Regions from separate parts of the Homo sapiens genome. Here region 2 is linked to region 1. The links are contacts of gene promoters, found by promoter capture Hi-C in human tissues and cell types (Jung and others, 2019). All regions are on one chromosome and are shown on one strand. Each heading gives the region's core, a stretch centred on a gene start or on the middle of the fragment in contact. The rest is flanking DNA. Distances are from core to core; before and after follow the strand shown. Region 1 holds the start of ERVFRD-1 (endogenous retrovirus group FRD member 1, envelope). Region 2 overlaps LOC105374925 (a long non-coding RNA gene).

Evidence for each region. The method cuts DNA at HindIII sites, captures the fragments that hold promoters and counts their contacts. A contact is called where the count stands out against the background at its distance.
Region 2: a fragment that was not itself captured here is called in contact with the fragment with the promoter of ERVFRD-1 in region 1 in 1 of the 25 tissues and cell types used here (dorsolateral prefrontal cortex).

Annotation. Positions count from the first base shown.
Region 1 is chr6:11,109,717-11,115,008 of GRCh38, forward strand. It overlaps ERVFRD-1 (endogenous retrovirus group FRD member 1, envelope), which reads right to left and starts at 2,009. Exons shown (of 2, transcript NM_207582.3): 1 at 1,961-2,009. The region is part of intron 1 of SMIM13 (small integral membrane protein 13); the gene reads left to right. The HindIII fragment of the contact is 12,472 bases long and covers 1-5,292 here.
Region 2 is chr6:11,301,013-11,306,324 of GRCh38, forward strand. It overlaps LOC105374925 (a long non-coding RNA gene), which reads left to right. Exons shown (of 6, transcript XR_001743967.2): 2 at 4,286-4,433; 3 at 4,536-4,667; 4 at 5,003-5,170. It also overlaps a transcript of NEDD9 not described here. Among named protein-coding and RNA genes, the nearest start is that of NEDD9, 71 kb to the left of the region's middle. The HindIII fragment of the contact is 3,514 bases long and covers 699-4,212 here.

The sequences.
Region 1 (5,292 bases), core at 759-3,258:
CCCAGGCTGTATTACAGAAAAATATTAGCCTTTTCCTTTTTAGGGTTTGGGAGTCAAACTTTTCCCAGTTCTTGAGGATGTATCCTAGTAGTGTGTCCTGTGGTACAGAGACTTGATTACCTGTCCACAGAGAGAACAGAGGAGAGAAGAGAAAAAGAAGGCAACCCCTCCAATTTCCCTACTGTCTTTTTCCTGAACTTACAGCAGACCAGAGTGGGTAGGGCATTACCCCATTCATCCATTTTTCCTTTGCGTATGGCAGTGTCCCCCATTCATTCTAGGGGTTCCAGAATGAACCAGTGCTTACCAGGTACCCCTAACCTTGGTCCCATCTTGTTTTATTGAGGCACAATTACCCGTTTGTAAAGAAAGAACAGAGGCGAGAAGAGGGCATCTCCCCTTGTTCTCTTAATCCTGTGCCTATGGCAGACTACAGTGAACAGGGTGCCCTCCCACTCATCCAAGGGGTTCTGGAATGAACCCAGTGTTTACTGGGTACCCCTACCCTGATCCCATCCCATTTCTGGACCAGCCTTCATCTGTGTTGCAGTGGTAATCTGTTTTGTGTTTGTAGCCTGGAACTAGTCTTCATCTCTGTTCTATGGGTACTTTGGTCTCTTGCATCTGCCTCCTTGGGCTGTCCTATATCCTTGTCTCCATGACCTTATAGTGACCCTTGTTCAGAGCATTCTAGCAACAGAATGATTATCTCTTCTCAGATTCTCATTTCCCATGTTCTTTAAGAAGACGAGAAGCCTGTTTTTCTGCCAATTGCTGCAAGGGGGCTGGACTTCTCTCCCTTCAAATATAACTTTGAAGGTCCTGATACATATTGAGAAGGGCCTGGAGGTGATTAGAGGAATGGAGGAAAATTTGTATTTGGGATTCTTCATCCTCCCAGGGTAACATGCAGAACAAATGCTTAACGAGGTAGAACAATCCCTCTGCTACAGGAGAAAGCGGGAGGAAGCAAGAGGAATACTCATGGAAAGCCTTCATATGTTTGCAGAAACAGCAGCCCTTGGATTTGAGAGGGCAACGTTTATTTGCCCTCTTGATATAAAGGAGGAACCTCTGGAGGACTTGGTGTTTGGGATAAGACCCTGCAAACGGCAGAGAATTTTCCTTCCCCACAAAGGGGTGCTAACTCAGAAAAAAAGCGAGTGGGTGGGGTCCTTAAGGGCTACAGAGTGAGGTCCTATGCAAGCAAGCAAACCATTCAAAAGCCAGGGAGAAACATGGCCCTGGAGCATAACAGGGATGAAAAGCATATGGTAAGTCATAAGGAGCTGACAGAGCTAAGGTTCTGATTAGTGTCTATCCCGGCAGTGAGCCAACAGACAGGGAAAGGGTTGGAGGTCATCCGAGCTGGTAGGGTAACAAGTATAAATATCAAGGGACATCCGTAAGGGAGTCCATCTCTTGGTTGCCAGGCTAACACAGCAAGAGCTGCGGGTGCATGAATAACAAATAGGGAATGTGTGTTTAAGGCAGAGAAGAAAGTTGCAGGGCATGCAAAGTAAGAACAGAGAAAAGACAGACTTACCCCCAAGGCAGTTGGTCCAATGGGTGTGCGAGGTCATTTTGGAATACATACAGAGAAAGGAAAATAGGTGGTGGTGGGTTTTTGGGAAAGAGCTGATTTTAGTTGAAAAAGCAGAGGAAACCCCAGATACTACATGGTTGTAGGTTTTAGCCCTACCGCTCTCATCAGCCTCCTGTCTGGGGGGGCCATTAGTGTCTCAGGTCTACTTAGTGCAGACTCCAAGGTCCTTCCCACCCCTGCAAGCCATCCTTCGGGGTGAGCAGAGAGAGCAGCCAGGGGGAGCAGAGCCACTGTGGTTGAGAGGAATCGTTCCAGGGGTAGGTTAGTAAGCAGGAGAGTGAAAGAGGAGAACGAAACCACGTACGAGGGTTGAACGCCTCCAGCCGAAGAAGGCAAGGCGTAGAGGTGTCTTACCACTAGGGAAGGTATCCGAGTCACTGCACCATTTGAGAGATCCAAGTGCCCTGTTCAGCCCTTGACTTGGGGTTTTATACATCGGCATGGTTCCGGGGTTTCCATTTCTCCTCCTTGGATTTTTTTCCTTGGGGTGGGCTGTCTGCTGTGCAGTGGCCTGTCAGCACTTGGGAGGAGCCACATGTGCATTTGTTTACTGAAGTTGTGCGCATGCTTTCTTGAGACATTTTTCCCTTATCAGTCAGGTGTTCCTAGAGGAAGGTCACATACTGGTTAAACTGTCATTTTGCTTCTTAGTGCGCATGCTTGAGCCCACTTGCCCAGCTTCGGAGATCTTATCAGGAAGTTGCTGATCACCAGCTTCCGGTGTTTCCTGTCTTTTGGGAGACTGTCTTTCCCTGGTACTGGCTGCAACCCATTATTATTATTTTAGAGAAACAGTGTAACAACCGCCTGATCATCACCTGATGGTCGCCTGACATTCCTGAGCTGGGGGCCCTCTCCTGCCCTGCTCATGTCTGCCTGACTACCTACTCTAACAGAACCAGCTTAACCTAATGGCCTCCTGATAGAACTGCTTGCTTTTTTTTTTTTGGAGACAGCCTCGCTCTGTCTCCCAGGCTGGAGTGCAGTGATGCAATCTTGGCTCACTGCAACCTCCACCTCCCGGGTTCAAGTGATTCTTGTGCCTCAGACTCCTGAATAGCTGGAATTAACAGGTGTGCACCACCATGCCCAGCTAATTTTTGTATTTTTAGTAGAGACAAGATTTCACCATGGTGGCCAGGCTGATCTTGAACTCCTGACCTCAAGTGATCTGCTGTCCTTGGCCTCCCAAAGTGCTGGGATTACAGGCATGAACCACCACACCTGGCCCAAACTGCTTTCCATAAACATAAATTTACCTTTCTAATGTAAATCAAATCACACAACATGCTTTTTGTGTTTGACTTCTTTCTGCTAGCATAATGCTTTTGAAATCTATTTGTGTTGTGTATATCAGTAATACATTCTTTTGTATTGCTGAAAGAGTATTCCATTGTATAGATATACCACAATTTGTTTATCCATTTACTCATTGATGGACATGAGAGTGGTTTCCAGCTTTTGGCTGTTAGTATTATTATTGTTTTATTTATTTATTTTTTTGAGATGGGGTCTTGCTCTGTCGCCCAAGCTGGAGTGCAGTGGTATGATCTTGGCTCACTGCAACCTTTGCCTCCTGGGTTCAAGCAATTCTCCTGCCTCAGCCTCCCAAGTAGCTGGGATTATAGGCACCTGCCACCATGCCTGGCTAATTTATTTTATTTTATTATATATTTTTTTGTATTTTTAGTAGAGACGGGGTTTCACCATGTTGGCCAGGCTGGTTTCGAACTCCTGACCTCAAGTAATCCACCCGCCTGGGCCTCCCAAAGTGTTGGGATTACAGGCGTGAGCCTGTAGTAGTAGTATTAGTAGTTAGTAGTATTATTAACATTCAGTTGCAAATCTTGGTGTAGACATATGTTTTCATTTCTCTTGAGTAACTTCATTTCTCTTGAGAAACTGCCAAACATTTGCATTGCCAGCAGTCATGAGTGAGAATTTGTTACTCCGCATCCATCACCAACATTTGATGGTATTGTCTGTTTTTAATTTAGCCATTCTAGAGGATGGGTATTATGCTTTTGATTTTTGTTTCATTAATGACTAATTATTTTCAGCATCTTTTATGTGTTATTTGCCATTCTTTCTACCTTCTGTGTAAATCATCTTTACAAGTTTTTTCTACTCATTTAAAAAATTGTGTTACTTTTATCAAGTTGTAAACAATTCTTTATTCTGGATACAAGTTTTTTTTGTTTGTTTTTATCAGATATGTTTTGCAAGTATTTTCTTCTATTCTGTAGCTTGCCTTTTTATTTTTATTTTTTTGAGATGGAGTCTTGCTTTGTTGCCCAGGCTGGAGTACAGTGGCACAATCTTGGCTCACTGCAGCCCCCGCCTCCTGGGTTCAAAAGGTTGCCCTGTTTCAGTCTCCCCAGTAGCTGGGAATTACAGGCATGTGCCACCATACCTAGCTAATTTTTGTATTTTTAGTAGAGGCAGGGTTTCACCATGTTGGCCAGGCTGGTTTCGAACTCCTGATCTCAGGTGGTCCACCCATCTCGGCCTCCCAAAGTGCTGGGATTACAGGCATGAGCCACCGCACCCGGCTGCCTTTTTATTTTTAAATGTCATTTGTTTTGTGTTGTTATTGTTTGATAAGTCCTTCTTATCAAGTTTTTAAGGTATGACATATAAAGTTATTCTTTTTGTTTTTTTTTTTTAATTTTTTTGAGACGGAATCTCACTCTGTCGCCCAGGCTGGAGTGCAATGGCGCGGTCTTGGCTCACTGCAACATCTGCCCCCAGGATTCAAGCGATTCTCCTGCCTCAGCCTCCTGAGTAGCTGGGATTACAGGTGCGCGCCACCACGCCTGGCTGATTTTTGTATTTTTAGTAGAGATGGGATTTCACCATGTTGGCCAGGCTTGTCTCAACCTCCTGATCTCAAGTGATCTACCTGCCTCGCCCTCCCAAAGTGTTGGGATTACAGGCAGTTGAAGGTAGTTTTACCTTTTCTTCCCAATGTGTACATTTGTCTTTTAGCTTTTGCCTCATTGCACTGGCTAGGGCCTTATAATGTTGCAAGAAAGGAGTGAGAGCAGACCTTCCTCCCTGATCTTTTGGAGTGAAATATTTAGCCTTTTACCATTAAATAAATTATTAGCTGTGGGATTTTAATAGATATTCTTTATCAAGTTTAGGAAGAAAACTTCCCCTCTGTTTCTACTTTGTGGTGATTTTTCTTTTTTTTTTAAATCAGGAGTGGATATTGGATTTTTTTTTTTAATGATTTTTCTGTATTGAGATGGTCATGCACTTTTTCTCTTTTTTTTTTTTTTTTTTTTTTTTGAGATGGAGTCTCACTCTGTCGCCCAGGCTGGAATGTGGTGGTATGATCTCGGCTCACTGCACCCTCCTCCTCCCAGGCTTAAGTGATTCTCGTGCCTCAGCCTCCTAAGTAGCTGGGATTACAGGCGTGTACCACCACACCCAGCTAATTTTTGTATTTTTTAGTAGAGACGGGGTTTCACCATGTTGATCAGGCTGGTCTCGAACTCTTGACCTCAAGTGATCCACCTACCTTGGCCTCCCAAAGTGTTGGCATTATAGGCATGAGCCACCACGCCCGGCTGTATTTTTTCTCTTTTAAGTCTGTTAATATGGTGGATTTTGTTGCATTTCGAATGTGAAAGTAACCCATTCCTCAGATAAACCTGTTTTGGTCATGACATGTTATCCAT
Region 2 (5,312 bases), core at 1,206-3,705, 190 kb after region 1:
ACAATATTAATCTTAAGTGAAAATGGGCTAAATGCCCCAGTTAAAAGTCACGGACTGGCAAATTGGATAAAGAGTCAAGACCCATGGGTGTGCTGTATTCAGGAGACCCATTTCATGTGCAAAGACGCACATAGGCTCAAAATAAAGGGATGGAGGAAGATCTACCAAACAAATGGAAAGCAAAAAAAAGCAGGGGTTACAATCCTAGTCTCTGATAAAACAGACTTTAAACCAACAAAGATCAAAAGAGACAAAGAAGGCCACCACATAATGGTAAGGGGATCAATTCACCAAGAAGAGCTAACTATCCTAAATATATATGCACCCAATACAGGAGCAACCAGATTCATAAAGCAAGTCCTTAGAGATCTACAAAGAGACTTAGACTCCCACACAATAATAATGGGAGACTTTAAAACCCCACTGTCAGTATTAGACAGATCAATGAGACAGAAGGTTAACAAGGATATCGAGGGCTTGAACTCAGCTCTGCACCAAGTAGACCTAATAGACATCTACAGAACTCTCCACCCCAAATCAACAGAATATACATTCTTCTCAGCACCACATTGCACTTATTCTAAAATTGACCACTTAGTTGGAAGTAAAGCACTCCTCAGCAAATGTAAAAGAACAGAAACCACAACAAACTCTCCCTGACTACAGTGCAATCAAATTAGAACTCAGGATTAATAAACCCACTCAAAACCACACAACTACATGGAAACTGAACAACATGCTCCTGAATGACTACTGGGTAAGTAACGAAATGAAGGCAGAAATAAAGATGTTCTTTGAAACCAATGAGAAAAAAGATGCAACACACCAGAATCTCTGGGATACATTTAGAGCAGTGTGTAGAGGGAAATTTATAGCACTAAATGCATACAAGAGAAAGCAGGAAAGATCTAAAATCGACACTCTAACATCACAATTAAAAGAACTAGAGAAGCAAGAGCAAACAAATTCAACAGCTAGCAGAAGGCAAGAAATAACAAAGATCAGAGCAGAACTGAAGGAGAGAGAGACACAAAAAACCCTTCAAAAAATCAATGAATCCAGGAGCTGTTTTTTTAAAAAGATCAACAAAATAGATAGACTGCTAGCAAGACCAATAAAAAAGAAAAGAGAGAAGAATCAAATAGATGCAATAAAAAATGATAAAGGGGATATCACCACTGATCCCACAGAAATGCAAACTACCATCAGAGAATACTATAAACACCTCTATGCAAATAAACTAGAAAATCTAGAAGAAATGGATAAATTCCTGGACACATACACTCTCTCAAGACTAAACCAGGAAGAAATTGAATCTCTGGATTGACCAATAACAGGCTCTGAAATTGAGGCAATAATTAATAGCCTACCAACCAAAAAAAGTCCAGGACCAGACAGATTCACAGCTGAATTCTACCAGAGGTACAAAGAGGAGCTGGTACCATTCCTTCTGAAACTATTTCAATCAATAGAAAAAAGGGGAATCCTCCCTAACTCATTTTATGAGGCTAGAATCATCCTGATACCAAAGCCTGGTAGAGACACAACAAAAAAAGATAATTTTAGGCCATATCCCTGATGAACATTGATGCAAAAATCCTCAATAAAATACTGGCAAACCGAATCCAGCAGCACATCAAAAAGCTTATCCACCACGATCACATTGGCTACATCCCTGGGATGCAAGGCTGGTTCAACATACACAAATCTGTAAATGTAATCCATCACATAAACAGAACCAATGACAAAAACCACATGATCATCTCAATAGATGCAGAAAAGGCCTTCGATAAAATTCAACAGCGCTTCATGCTAAAAACTCTCAATAAAATAGGTATTGGTGGAACGTATCTCAAAATAATAAGAGCTATTTATGACAAACCCACAGCCAATATCATACTGAATGGACAAAAGCTGGAAGCATTCCCTTTGAAAACCGGCACAAGACAGGGATGCCCTCTCTCACCACTCCTATTCAACATAGTGTTGGAAGTTCTGGCTAGGGAAATCAGGTAAGAGAAAGAAATAAAGGGTATTCAATTAGGAAAGGAGGAAGTCAAATTGTCCCTGCTTGCAGATGACATGATTGTATATTTAGAAAACCCCATTGTCTCAGCCCAAAATCTCCTTAAGCTAATAAGCAACTTCAGCAAAGTTTCAGGATACAAAATCAATGTGCAAAAATCACAAGCATTCCTATACACCAATAATAGACAAACAGAGAGCCAAATCATTAGTGAACTCCCATTCACAATTACTACAAAAAGAATAAAATACCTGGGAATCCAACTTACAAGGGACGTGAAGGAACTCTTCAAGGAGAACTACAAACCACTGCTCAATGAAATAAAAGAGGACACAAACAAATGGAAGAACATTCCATGTTCATGGATAGGAAGAATCAATATTATGAAAACGTCCATACTTTCCAAGGTAATTTATAGATTCAGTGTCATCGCCATCAAGCTACCTGACTTTCTTTACGTAATTGGAAAAAACTACTTAAAAGAACAAAGCTGGAGGCATCCCGCTACCTGACTTCAAACTATACTACAAGCTAGAGTAACCAAAACAGCATGGTACTGGTACCAAAACAGATATATAGATCAATGGAACAGAACAGAGGCCTCAGAAATAACATCACACATCTACAACCATCTGAACTTTGGCAAACCTGAAAAAAACAAGCAATATTGAAAGGGTTCCCTATCTAATAAATGGTGCTGGGAAAACTGGCTAGCCATATGTAGAAAGCTGAAACTGGATCCCTTCTTTACACCGTATATAAAAATTAACTAGAAGCATTAAATACTTAAATGTAAGACCTAACACTGTAAAAATCCTAAAAGAAAACCTAGGCAATACCATTCAGGACATAGACATGGGCAAGGACTTCATGACTAAAATACCAAAAGCAATGGCAACAAAAGCCAAAATAGACAAATGGGATCTAATTAAACTAAAGAGCTTCTGCACAGCAAAAGAAACTACCATCAGAGTGAACAGGCAGCCTACAGAATGGGAGAAAATCTTTGCAGTCTACCCATCTGAAAAAGGGCTAATATTCAGAATCTACAAAGAACTTAAACAAATTTACAAGAAATAAACAAACAACCCCATCAAAAAGTGGGCAAAGGATATGAACAGACACTTCTCAAAAGAAGACATTTATGCAGCCAACAGACATATGAAAAAATGCTCATCACTTGTCATCAGAGAAATGCATATCAAAACCACAAAGAGATACTATCTCACACCAGTTAGAATGGCCATCATTAAAAAGTCAGGAAACAACAGATGCTGGAGAGGATGTGGAGAAATAGGAAGGGTTTTACACTGTTGGTGGGAGTGTAAACTGGTTCAACCATTGTGGAAGACAATGTGGCGGTTCCTCAAGGATCTAGAACTAGAAATACCATTTGACCCAGCCATCCCATTACTGGGTATATACCCAAAGGATTATAAATCATGCTACTATAAGGACACATGCACACGTATGTTTATTGGGGCACTATTCACAATAGCAAAGACTTGGAACCAACCCAAATATCCATCAATGATAGACTGGATTGAGAAAATGTGGCACATATACACCATGGAATACTATGCAGTCATAAAAAAGGATGAGTTCATGTCCTTTGTAGGGACATGGATAAAGCTGGAAACCATCATTCTAAGCAAACTATCACAAGGACAGAAAACCAAACATTGCATGTTCTCACTCATAGGTGGGAGTTGAACAATGAGAACACATGGACACAGGGTGGGGAACCTCACACACCGGGGCCTGTCAGTGGGTGGGGGCCTGGGGGAGATATAGCATTAGGAGAAATACCTAATGTAAATGATGAATTGATGGGTGCAGCAAACCCACATGGCACATGTATACCTATGTAACAAACCTGCACGTTTTGCACATGTACCCTAGAACTTAAAATATAATTAAAAAAACCCACAGTGATATGACAATCAAACTTGTTTTTAATGCCTTCCAGGGAAATCCTTTTGTTACTTATCAAATTATTTAAAGAAAGCATTTCTTATTATATTTACCTTGGAACGTTTGCCCAGAAAGGAGATTGGGCTGTTCTTGGCTTGATACGGTGCCCAGAGCTTTTTTATTTGTGTGCAGTTGATGGTTGATTCTCTGAGATACAGAAAACAGTTGATCGATCTCAATAGATAAGGGAATTTACCTTTTTTCATTTTGAGCATGAGTTACTCTATGTGCATTTTCTCATTTCATCCTCTGAACAATCTTCCTGTCACCATTTTATAAACACAGAAACAGAGATTCAAAAGGGTCAGGTCACTGGCTCCAGGTCAACTCTACTACTAAACAGAAAAGCAAGGACCAAAATTCAGATCTTTGTGACCCTCAATGCCACTATGCCATGCGATGATGCCTGCCTCTTTTAGAGGCCAACTAATAGGTAAAATTACATATCATTTCTTCTACTGAATTTTCATAAAACCTTTAGGAAGCCTTGGTTAGATAGAAAAATTGATTATTTTCATCCTACACTCTACTCCAGGCCAACTTGATTTTCTTGAGGAATGGCCGAATGGAAGTTGAATGGTTGAAGGTGACTGGCAAACAGAGAAACAAGGCACCAAGAACTGGCTATTTCCAAACGTGGGCAATCAGCTTCTGAATGAATAGTTCAGTGAGTGTAACTTCCAGGCTTGCTCGGGCACCATTATGTTAAGTGGAATAATCTATCTGCATCCCAGAAGACTGCTTCCCCAGAGATTTCTGGATGGAATAGGATGCCCTGTGGGCATCAGTGCATCCATGTAAAAAATTCACCTAACAGCAAAATCTGGCAGTCTAAACTTAACAGTATTTTCCCCAAATGTTAGTTGCAGGCCCGTATGACAAAAAAACATGATTTGTATTATTATTGCAGAGAATTTAGGCTGAGCAAACTGGAAAAAGGGGAATCACAAATTGTCTGTTTTTTTCTATCAGTACTCACCCTTGTCCACATTTTGCCCCAAGGAATGATGCAGCTCTGGATGTTGGAAAGGACAATTCCGGCGTTTTACTCTTCTGACCAGTTTCTTCGTTTTCATAACTCTACTTGAAGAACATATGATGTTTGCCAGTGTCTGACATTACGGACCTCACAGCTTACTGAATCTGAAAACAGGAGATAGAGATGGAAAGGTTGGTAAGATCTGAAAAAAATTGAGATGCTTTTCATCATTTAAGGGTTGCATCATAGCAGCTGGAAAAGCCAAATCCATAGTCTTGTGAATGGAATCCATCATCCATTCATTCATGCAATCAAAGAAAGCATTTATGGGGT